Regions from separate parts of the Homo sapiens genome. Here all the other regions are linked to region 2. Evidence: promoter capture Hi-C in 16 types of primary human blood cells and fetal thymus (Javierre and others, 2016). All regions are on one chromosome and are shown on one strand. Each heading gives the region's core, a stretch centred on a gene start or on the middle of the fragment in contact. The rest is flanking DNA. Distances are from core to core; before and after follow the strand shown. Region 1 holds the start of STOML1 (stomatin like 1). Region 2 holds the start of PPCDC (phosphopantothenoylcysteine decarboxylase). Region 3 has its middle 25 kb from the start of STOML1.

Region 1 (3,285 bases), core at 688-3,187, 1.0 Mb after region 2:
GTTTGGGAACTAATTTTGGCCATTTTCAGATTTAAGAGGGAATTCATGAGAAATGATACCCAAGGAGTGTGCTAGGACAAGATCCTAGCTGAGGAGATTGAACCAGTTCTGTGAGTGATGGGAAGTTGCTGAAGGATTTGGAACCAGGGAACAACACGATCAGCTGTGCATGATGGGACAGTCACTCTGACAACCTAGGAGCAGGTGCCCTGGTCTAGGACAGTGGCTGTGGGATGCAGAGGAGGGACTTGATTCAGAGATCCTGGGAAGCCAGTGACTGGAGGTGAGGGAGCAGGATGATGCCTTGAGTGACAGCTGGAAAGGCTGGTGGATCTGAGGTGGTGGGGGCAGGAGGGAGGGGGAGAGCTGGAGAGCGGGTATGAAGAGGGTGAGGGGAGAGCCAGCTAGGTCTTCGCCAATGGAAAAGCATGTCAGACTCCCAGCTGGTAAGGGGAAAGGGGCACAGTTCCAGGTGACCTCACTGGGTCAGCGCCCCGGCTTCAAACTTAAACCATCGCAACCACTGTGCTGGCTCCTGTGTACCCATTCCGTACTCTGTTCCAACTTAGAAACAGACTAGAAAGGATGATGATAGGGCCTGGCTCTTGTAAACCTTACAGTCTGCAGGGTGGAGAGCAGGGGTTGGGCAGATACGCAACTTCCTAGGGACTGTAAGGCCTCAGGAGCCTGCCCTTCCCTCCAGCCTGGTCAGTACTCCCAGGCCTTTAGAGAATCAGTCCATGAAAGCCAAATATGGTGGGCAGCCATCTGCACAAGGGACCTGGAAGTGGGCTATGGCAGGATGGGGCTTCGGAGGCCAGAGGCGATTGGCTGAGGAGGCAGAGCTGGGGAAGCTTTATTCATTTCTTTGCTTGCTTTGGAAGATAGCCTGCTCCCAGACTACCCCAAAGTCCTGTTGGAAGTTAACACTTCTCAAAGGAAATTCACGAGTTGCATTCAGGTTTTCTCAAGCCCTGGAGAGGCAAGTTAATTCCAGGTACCTGGATCAAGGGGCATGCTCTTTCTGGACCTGCAGGACTGAGGGCCTCACCTCTGTGGTGCTCTGGGGCCCCTGCCCTCATGTAGCTCTGTGCTATCCCCTTCTTCCTTACACTCCCATGCTCCCCGAAGTCTGCATGTGAAACTTCTTTCTTTTTGTGCCAAAGTTCAGGCCTTCCTACTCCACCTTGATCACGGTGACCTGGCCAGGCCATTACTTAACAAATAAGTATTGAGACCTGCCCTATGCCAGTCCCTGCTTGCTGGGCTGTGGGTTCACAAAGAGGAATAATTTGCAGACTATGTCCCAGAGAAACCCAAAGTCCAGATATGGCATGTCCTGCCTCCAGTGTGAGAGAAGGAGTGCTGAGAAGGCTGATATAGCATGTCCTTGATCCTGGAGAAGATTGGCTTCCTGTAAACCCTGATGAGATCTTGCTCTCTCGCTCCGACTGCAGTGCAGTGGCACGATCATAGCTCACTGCAGCCTCAAACTCCTGGACTCAAGAGATCCTCCCGCCTCAGCCTCCCAAGTGGCTGGGACCACAGGCAGGCATCCCACGCCAGGCTAATTTTTAAAAATTTTTTGTAGAGATGGGCTCTCACTATGTTGCTCAGGATGGTCCTGAATTCCTGGCCTCAAGCGATCCTCCTGCCTGAGTCTCCCAAATTGATGGATTATAGGAGTGAGCCACCGTGCCCAGCTTCCCCTCCAGCTTTTCTAGGGCTGAGTAGGAGAAGAGGGGAGGAGGCGATGACCCCAGCGGGGTCCGAGGAACGCCGATCACACCCAGTAGCCCTGGGCTGCAGTTCGGTCCTCCCAGCGCAGGGGGAGCCATGCGACGGCGGAAGCGGGCCCCGGCCGGCCTCCTCTTCCTGCGCCCGCGCCGCCGCGGGTGGCCGCGCGGGTGAAGCCGGAAGCAGCAGCCAGGAGGGCGGGGCCGCGTAGGGCCCACTGGCCAGGGAGGGCGCCGCGCGGAGGCGCGGGGCGTGTCTCCTGTCAAAAGCCATGCTCGGCAGGTCTGGGTACCGGGCGCTGCCCCTGGGTGATTTTGACCGCTTCCAGCAGTCGAGCTTCGGCTTTCTGGGCTCGCAGAAGGGCTGCTTGTCCCCGGAGCGGGGCGGCGTGGGGACAGGGGCCGGTGAGTGGCCGCCTGGCACGGCGGAGCCGGGGGGGACCGGCCGGCAACCCCCAGGCCCGAATCTCTGCCTCCGAGGAGTCGGCCGGCCCGGTGCCGTCGCACCCTACGAGGGGGGACTGAGAAAGGGATACGATGTGGAGAGGGGGCTGGACCCGGCGCCTGGTGCTAGCGCCGATCCGCCCTCCCTAGGGTCATGGGGCTTTGGCCCCAGAGCCAGCCAGCGTTGCTCCTATCTTCCAAAACCTCACCTCACCACATTTGTCCTCGGCTCTTATCAGCCCTTTAGGCCTGGGAAGACGTTTCAGGTTTCTATTTCGCATAGAAGAAACCGAGGTCTAGGCAGAGGAGGCCACCAGCACCCTAAAGGCACCTGCTGCAGGGAAATGGAAGAATTTTCGCCCTAGGGGGCACCTCTAGAAGCCCGGGAACTAGGCATCTCCTGGATGTGCAGGCCAAAATGACAGGTCCTCAGCTGCCTGTTGGATCTGCCCTGCTTCTGTCTTGCCCTCAAAGTCTTCTGTGGCTCCTTTGGCCTACAGGCCAGATCCCACGCTGTTCAGCCTAACCGCCTAACCTTGGATTTGATCCCTCCCTGGCCTTCCTGTCCTGAAAGCTCTCCCTATCCAGAAGTCTCTTGAGAGGCCTGGTGGATCAGAGCCAGGCACAAAGTGGAGCCTCAGTGCTCTGGGGCTTAGCCCAGAGGGCAGGGCTTCCTGGAAGAATGGAGCAGGGCTCCCGACTGCTTCCTGTCCAGGGTTGGGAGGAAAGCGGCAAATAACCTCATCCCAGATTCTGGAGCTGTCTCGGCTTTGCTCCCAACTTGGGCTCCTGAATCTCCAGGGGCCAGGACATTTGGCTTGGATAAGCCTCATCTTTCTAGCCCTGCCCCTGACCCCGACCCCTAACAATTTTCTTGAATTGAAATAGGCAGGGTTTTTTTTTGTTTTTGTTTTTTGTTGTTTGTTGTTTTTTTGAGATGGAGTCTCGCTCTGTCCCCCAGGCTGGAGTGCAGTGGCGCCATCTCGTGAAATAGGCATTTTTTAATGGTCATTAAGGCATTAAAGTTGGGTGTGGAATAGAAAATAATAATCTAATTCCTCATCTGTGGCTCCCGTTGATAAGCTATTTATGATTTATCCCTGTA
Region 2 (3,719 bases), core at 290-2,789:
CAGCCTGGGTAACATAGCAAGACCCCATACAAAAAATTTAAAAGTTAGTGAGGTGTGGTGGCACATGCCTGTGGTCTCAACTACTTGGGAGGCTGAGGCAGGAGGATCGCTTGAGCCTAGAAGGCTGCAGTGAGCCATGTTTGTGCCACTGCACTCCAGCCTGGGTGACAGAGAGAGACCATTTCAAAATATAATAATAGTACCACAAAAAAAAAAAAGTGTGTAGCTATTTACATAGCATTTACACTGTATCAGGTTTTATAAGTAATCTAGAGATTATTTAAATTATATGGAGGGCGTGGTGGCACGTGCCTGCAGTCCCAGCTACCTGGGAGGCTGAGGTGGGAGGATTATCTGAGCCCAGGGAGTTCGAAGATGCAGTGAGCTATGATTGCACCACTACACTCCAGCCTGGGAGACAAGAGTGAGACCCTGACTCAAAAAAAAAAAAAGAAAAGAAAAAAGAGTATACAGGAGGGTGATGTGGTGGCTCACACCTGTAATCCCAGCATTTTGAGAGGCCAAGGAAGGAGGATAGCTTGAGCCAGGAGTTTGAGACCAGCCTGGGCAACATGGTGAGACCCTGTCTCTACAAAAATGAAATAAAATAAAAATTAGCCGGGTATGGTTGTTTATGCCTGTGGTTCCAGCTACACAGGAGGCTGAGGCAGGAGGATCCCTTGAGCCCAGGAGGTCGAGGCTGCAGTGAGCCATGTTCCTGCCACTGCACTCCAGCCTGGGTCACAGAATGAGACCTTGTCTCAAAAAAAAAAAGTATACAGCAATCCCCTGCGGATACTGAGGGATAAATGTATCTAACACACACACTCACACACGTGGGCTACTAGAAAGGCAGTGACTGCGAATTGCTACTTCCCAGCCACTGTGAGAGATGTGGAAACCCCTGCTCCAGGACAACCACCACTTCCCCAACTTGGCAACCTCTCCTGCTCACCATCTAGCACCTGCTTCCAAATACTTCAAGGACAGCAGGAAGTTCTTTTCTGACAAGATTTGGCCTAATTTTTAAATAGCACTCAGCACTTTTTGGCAGGCCTAGGGCTACTTCCAACATCCCATGGCTTTCCTTTTTTAATTTTACCAACTTTTTAAATACACTTTGTACTTTGGGCAGCCCGGGTAAGCGTTCAGTGTGAGGAGCTGACACGGCCATCATTTAAACTAGATTAAACGACACTGGACAAATAATCGCAGAGCAGCACAAAGTCGGGCTGGACGGGTACAGATGCAAACCCTCCACTCAGGGCTCGGGGGTCCCTCCTGCTCCAGGCGGCCCCACCCGTACAGCCGGGAAAGTGAGGTCGCACAGATGGACGGCCGCCTACCCACGCACAGTCGCAAACAGAGCTTCATGGGCACACAGGGGAAAATAAGGACACACACAGACAGCCGTGGACCCACGCTCGCGGACACAGCTCCCCGAACCTCCCCTCCCGCGCCGCCGCGAGAACCCAGCTTCCCAGCCCCCTTCCACTGCTCACCCGCGCCAGGCGCGTCTCGGGGCCGCTCCCAAATATCGCGGTATCTCTGCCGCTCTCCCGCGGAATCTGACTGGCACGCCTCACGAGAGCACCGGGCTGGCTGTATGTCGCGCAGCCTTCTGGGAGCTGTAGTCCACTTCTCTGCCTTCCGGGAGTTGTAGTCCACTGGGGAAATCCTGGAGCAAACCCTGGCCCTGTTCTTTGTATTGCTGGGACTCTCGATAGGGGCTGGCATAACTGTCCGACCTCCTTTCCTCACTCCTATCAGCCCCACACACACTGCTTGTTGCTTGGGGCCTTTTTTTTTTTTTTTTTTTTTTTGCTGTTGTCCCAGGTTTATTGAAAATATTACAGTATCTCAAAAAGATTCAAACAGCTTCCACGTGGCGTTTTGAAATTCATCCCCACTGTTGGCTGAGTGACCTGCAGGTTGGACAGACTGCCAAAGTCCAAAAACATCAGCATTTCCTTAATGTCAGGATATGTTAATACTTCAATGATTTCCTGATCCAGGGCTGAGACCTCAGGAACATGATTATCTCTCCTTTCTCTCTTCTCCTCCTGCAACTTGATGCAGATACCTCTCACTGAGCGCTTCAAATCAGCTTCATCACATGCATGTTGTAGCCTGCTATCTTGTTGGGGAGCTGTTTTTTTTTTTGTTTTTTTTTTTTTTTTTGAGACAGGGTCTGGCTCTGTCACCCAGACTGGAGTGCGCAGTGGTGCTATCTCCACTCACTGCAACCTCCACCTTTTGGGCTTAAGCCATCCTCCTATCTCAGCCTATGGAGTAGCCAGGACTACAGGAGTGCACCATCATGCCAGACTAATGTTTGTATTTTTTGTAGAGACGGGTTCTCACTCTATTGCCCAGGCTGGTCTCAAACTCCTAGGCTCAAACAATCCGCCCACCTTGGCCTCCCAAAGTGCTGGGACTACAGGAGTGAGCCACCACGCTCGGCCCTGGGGAGCATTTTGCTGGAAATAATGGTGATCTCCTTGCACATGTGTTGTTTGTGTGGAAGTTGCTGCCCGGGTGTGTGTATTACTTTTTTATGACGAAGTATAGAAAAGGGCTATCTTCATGGTATTAGTGTGAATGGGGCCCATGTTGGCAGGTCCTTAGTAAAAGAGGGCTCGTGGCACTTAATATTTACCAAGCCTCTTCTATTTTAGGTGCACAGGATACAGAGATAAATCAGATGCGTCCCTGTTCTTGAGACAAACAGGGACACAGAAAATGACAGGGTAAGATCCTCCATGAGGAAGCAACACCTCTAGGCAGGAAAGCCTTCTTGAAGGAGTGACTTGAAATGAATCTTGAAGGACAGCCAGGAGGTTAGATAGAGGATCCCAATAGCGATCCAGGTGGAAGGCATCAAATGGGCAAAGGGAAGGCGGCAGAAGAACACACACTGGCATGCTTCCCTGCCCCCTTCATTTTCTAGCCTTCACAGGCCCCAGGAACCTCTGTATTCATTGAGGTGGCTGAACCAGCTGCGGGTCCCCTGCCCTGAGCTGAGGTGGGGCCTCTGCTCTACCCCCGCCCTTAGCCGCAGTGGACCATCTGGGCCAAACCATCCCTTACGCAGGGATCCAGCCGTGTCTTTTTTTTTTGAGATGGAGTCTTGCTGTGTCGCCCAGGCTGGAGTGCAGTGGTGCGATCTCGGCTCACTGCAAGCTCCGCCTCCTGTGTTCACGCCATTCTCCCGCCTCAGCCTCCCGAGTAGCTGGGACTACAGGTGCCTGCCACCTCGCCCGCCTAATTTTTTGTATTTTTAGTAGAGATGGGGTTTCACCGTGTTAGCCAGGATGGTCTCGATCTCCTGACCTCGTGATCCACCCGCCTCAGCCTCCCAAAGTGCTAGGATTACAGGTGTGAGCCACCACGCCCGGCCGATCCAGCCTGCTTCTTCTACTTCCTCCTCCCAAGGCAGGGGGCCTAGGTGGCAATTTCATCACCTACTGAAGGCTGCCTCAGAGAAGGAGCCACACAGGGTCGTATAGCTCTAGGTCTCGGGGAATGACAGACCACAGATCCACCCACCCCCCATACTTTCATGCCCCTGCCCCACAGCCCGCTGTGAGGCTCCACGCAAGTCCACAGGAAGACACATGACACAGCAGAACACACAGGGCCAAATGTTCCCCTTTATTATGGTTCACTCAGTTACCAAAGACAGACACATTGGCTCAGGCAGCTCAACTGCCAGCTGG
Region 3 (3,632 bases), core at 1,044-3,543, 1.1 Mb after region 2:
AAAAAAAAAAAAAAAAAAAGCGGCTGTTGCAATAATCCAGGCAAGAAAAGAGAGTGGTGTGGACCAGGCTGGTAGCAGGGCGGGAGGTGGACTCTGGTTATTTGTATTCTAAGTTGTTAATTTTGAAATAATTGTAGGGTCACAGAAGGTCACAAAGGAATGTAGAGAGAAGTCCCATGTTCCCTACCTCTCATGCGAACAACTCACATAACCAGAGTACAGTATCAAAACGAAGAAATGGAACATCGGCACAATCCATTGAGTTTATTCAGATCTAACCAGTTATGCACGCACCCATTTGTGTGTGTGTTTGTGTGTGCCTGTAGGAAATGGGAAATCATGTATATAGTGAGAAAAATAGAGTTGGCCTTTGTCCCTGGTTCTTGGCACAGATCTTTTAAAACCCTCCTAAAATTTCCTGAGTTACAGTGATGTTTTGTTATTCATAACAAACCCCTTTCAACCATACCTGAGCTTATGTTAATGAGGACCCTAAATAGTTTCTGGATACAGGCTGCTGATCAGAAAGACTAAGCCATGATTGATGATGAGAGAGTTGGAACTTTCAGCCTCACTCTCTGACCTCCAGGGAGTGGACAGTGGCTAGGGATGGAGTTCAGTCACCAATGACCAATGATTTCATCAATCATGCCTCTGTAATGGAACCTTCATAAAGTTCCAAAACAATGGAGTTTGGAGAGCTTCTGGGTTGGAACACATGGAGATGCTGGAGGGGTGACGCCCAGAGCAGGCAGGGAGGCTCTGCACACCCACCCTACAATACCCAGTCCTATGCATCTCTTCACTTGGCTGTTCCTGAGTTGTATCTTTTACAATAGACCAGTAATGGTGAAGTAATGTGTTTTTTTGAGTTCTGTGAGCCATTCTAGCAAATTATCAAACCTGAGGAATGGAGGTCACGGGAACCTCCAAATTTGTAGTTGGCTGGACAGAAGTGTGGGTAACCTGGGGACCCAGTACTTGTGACTGGCATGTGAAATGGGGGTAGTTTTGTTTTGTTTTGTTTTGTTTTTTTGGAGACATCGAGTCTCACTCTGTCACCCAGGCTGGAGTGCAGTGGCACGATCTCGGCTCACACAACCTCCGCCTCTGGGTTCAAGCAATTATCCTGTCTCAGCCCCCCAAGTAGCTGGGATTACAGGCACTCGCCACCACTCCTGGCTAATTTTTGTACTTTTAGTAGAGATGAGGTTTCACCATGTTGGCCAGGCTGGACTCGAACTCCTGACCTCAGGTGATCCGCCTGCCTCGGCTTCCCAAAGTTCTGGGATTACAGGCATGAGCCACCACACCCAGCCATTTTTTTTTTTTTTGAGATGGAGTTTCACTCTTGTTGCCCAGGCTGGAGTGCAATGGCGTGACCTCAGCTCACTGCAACCTCCACCTCCTGGGTTCAAGCAATTCTTCTGCCTCAGCCTCCCGAGTAGCTGGGATTACAGGTGCCCGCCACCAGGCCTGGCTAATTTTTGTATTTTTAGTAGAGACAGGGTTTCACCATGTTGGCCAGGCTGGTCTCGAACTCCTGACCTCAGGTGATCCGCCCGCCTCAGCCTCCCAAAGTGCTGGGATTACAGGTGTGAGCCACTGCGCCTGGGAGAAATGGGGGTAGTCTTATGGGACTGAGCCCTTCAGCCTGTGGAGTCTGACACTAACTCCAGGTTAGTATCAGAATAGAATTGAATTATTGAACACCCAATTGGTATCACAGAAGCAGAAAATCGATTGGTGTTGGAAATGATACCACTTATTTGGTATCAGCACAAAGACCACAAAAAAGCTTTTTTTTTTTTTTTTTTTTGAGACAGAGTCTCACTCTGTTTTCAGGCTGAAGTGCAGTGGCACAATCTTGGCTCACTGCAACCTCCTCCTCCCGGGTTAAAGCAATTCTTCTGCCTCAGCCTCCTGAGTAGCTGGGATTACAGGCACACACTGCCACACCCGGCTAATTTTTGTATTTTTAGTAGAGACGGGGTTTCACCGTGTTGGCCAGGTTGGTCTCGACCTCCTGACCTCGTCATCCCCCCACCTCAGCCTCCCAAAGTGCTGGAATTACAGATGTGAGCCGTCGCACCCAGCCAACCACAAAGTAGCTCTATGTAAATTTGCCCTATGTGTAGCCTGGAGTAGCCACCAGAATGACCGAGGTGCTCAACTGTACCATCACCACAAAGCCTCTCGTGTAACCCCTTTACAGCCACACCCTCCCCTCCCTTCTGATATGGTACTGATCTGGGTCCCCACCAAACCGGGTGGAGTTCTCATGAATGGATTAGCACCATGAGATCTAGTTGTTCAAAAGTGTGTAGCACCTCCCATCTCTTTTCCTCCTGCTCTGGCCATGTAAGTGGTGCCTGCCTCCTCCTTTGCCCTCCCCATGGTTGTAAGTTCCCTGAGGCCTCCCCAGAAGCTGAAGCCACCACGCTTCCTGTACAGACTGCAGAACCATGAGCCAATTAAACCTTTTGTCTTTATAAATTACCCAGTCTCAGGTATTTCTTTATAGAAAGAGGAGAACGGACTAATACACATTCCTAACTCCTGACAACCACTAGTCTATTCCCTCTCTAATTATATTATTTGCCGTGTAAATAGAATCATGCAGTGATGTATCCTTTTGAGGCTGGCTTTTTCACTCAGCAAAAGTTCATCCAAGTTGTTGCTTGTACCAATAGTTCATTCCTTCTACAGCAGAATAGTATCCTGTGGTATGAATATACCATAGTTTGTGAGTATTTTCTGGTTTAGGGCTATTATAAATAAAGCTTCTATGAACATTTGTGTACAAGTTCCACCATGAAAATAAGTTTTCATTTCTCTGGGAAAAATGCATGACAGTGCAATTGCCGGGTTTTATGATAAGTCCATTTTTATTTTTGAAAGGAACTGGTTATATTTTGAACATGGGGCCAACAGGATTATCTGACAAATTGAACGTGGGTTTGAGAGAAAAGAGGAGTCAGGGATGGTTCTAAATGAAAGCATGCTGGAACACAGTAAGGGCTTGGTAAATGTCAGCTGCACAAGTGGTAGCAAATACAGCTGCAATCATGAAAGAAATGAGAAAAACCACGAGGCACTGTAAGCCATGAGACATTGCCCTAGAAGGCATTTAGAGTCACTCATTTGCATATGTTAAAAGTGAAAGAGAAGAGTGTTTTATTTCCTCTTAGGATATAGAAAAACCACAAGGGAACATCATTCCCATTCTTTTCTGGGGGGGCTCCAGTGATCATCCCACCTCAGCCTCCTGAGTAGCTGGGACTACAGGCTCCTGTCGCCATGTCTGGCTAATTTTTTTTTTTTTTTTTTTTTTTTTTTTGTAGAGACAGGGTTTCCCCATGTTGCTCAGGCTGGCTGGTCTTGAACTCCAGGGCTCAAAGGGTCCACCCACCTCACCCCCGAAAGTGCTGGGAGTACAGGAATGAACCACCCCGCCCCCCGACTCTAACAATAACAAAACACCAGATAATTTGCAAAACCATAATTTCTTAAACCAGTCAGATAGCTGAGGTGGCAGGCAACCAAGAGAACTGAATTCCAAAGAGTGACAAGCCCCTCCAAGGAAAGGCAAGACCAACTGTCTTGGGCAGAGCATGTGGTGGGCAGGAGGG

The links. Contacts are between HindIII fragments. The CHiCAGO score rates a contact against its expected background, and 5 or more counts as called.
Region 1: the fragment with the promoter of STOML1 here is called in contact with the fragment with the promoter of PPCDC in region 2 in 1 of 17 cell types (total CD4 T cells); the score reaches 6.1 in total CD4 T cells.
Region 3: a contact is called between a fragment that was not itself captured here and the fragment with the promoter of PPCDC in region 2, in 1 of 17 cell types (total CD4 T cells). The highest score is 5.1, in total CD4 T cells.

The regions. Positions count from the first base shown.
Region 1 is chr15:73,990,947-73,994,231 of GRCh38, reverse strand. It overlaps STOML1 (stomatin like 1), which reads left to right and starts at 1,937. Exons shown (of 7, transcript NM_004809.5): 1 at 1,937-2,141. The coding sequence starts at 2,009. RefSeq lists a silencer at 1,711-2,270 and enhancers at 2,401-2,470, 2,531-2,660. The HindIII fragment of the contact is 7,004 bases long and covers 857-3,285 here.
Region 2 is chr15:75,021,410-75,025,128 of GRCh38, reverse strand. It overlaps PPCDC (phosphopantothenoylcysteine decarboxylase), which reads right to left and starts at 1,539. Exons shown (of 6, transcript NM_021823.5): 1 at 1,503-1,539. SCAMP5 (secretory carrier membrane protein 5) reads right to left here. Exons shown (of 7, transcript NM_138967.4): 7 at 3,634-3,719. The HindIII fragment of the contact is 7,713 bases long and covers 1-3,719 here.
Region 3 is chr15:73,965,439-73,969,070 of GRCh38, reverse strand. No RefSeq gene overlaps it. Among named protein-coding and RNA genes, the nearest start is that of STOML1, 25 kb to the left of the region's middle. RefSeq lists a silencer at 2,996-3,145. The HindIII fragment of the contact is 985 bases long and covers 1,801-2,785 here.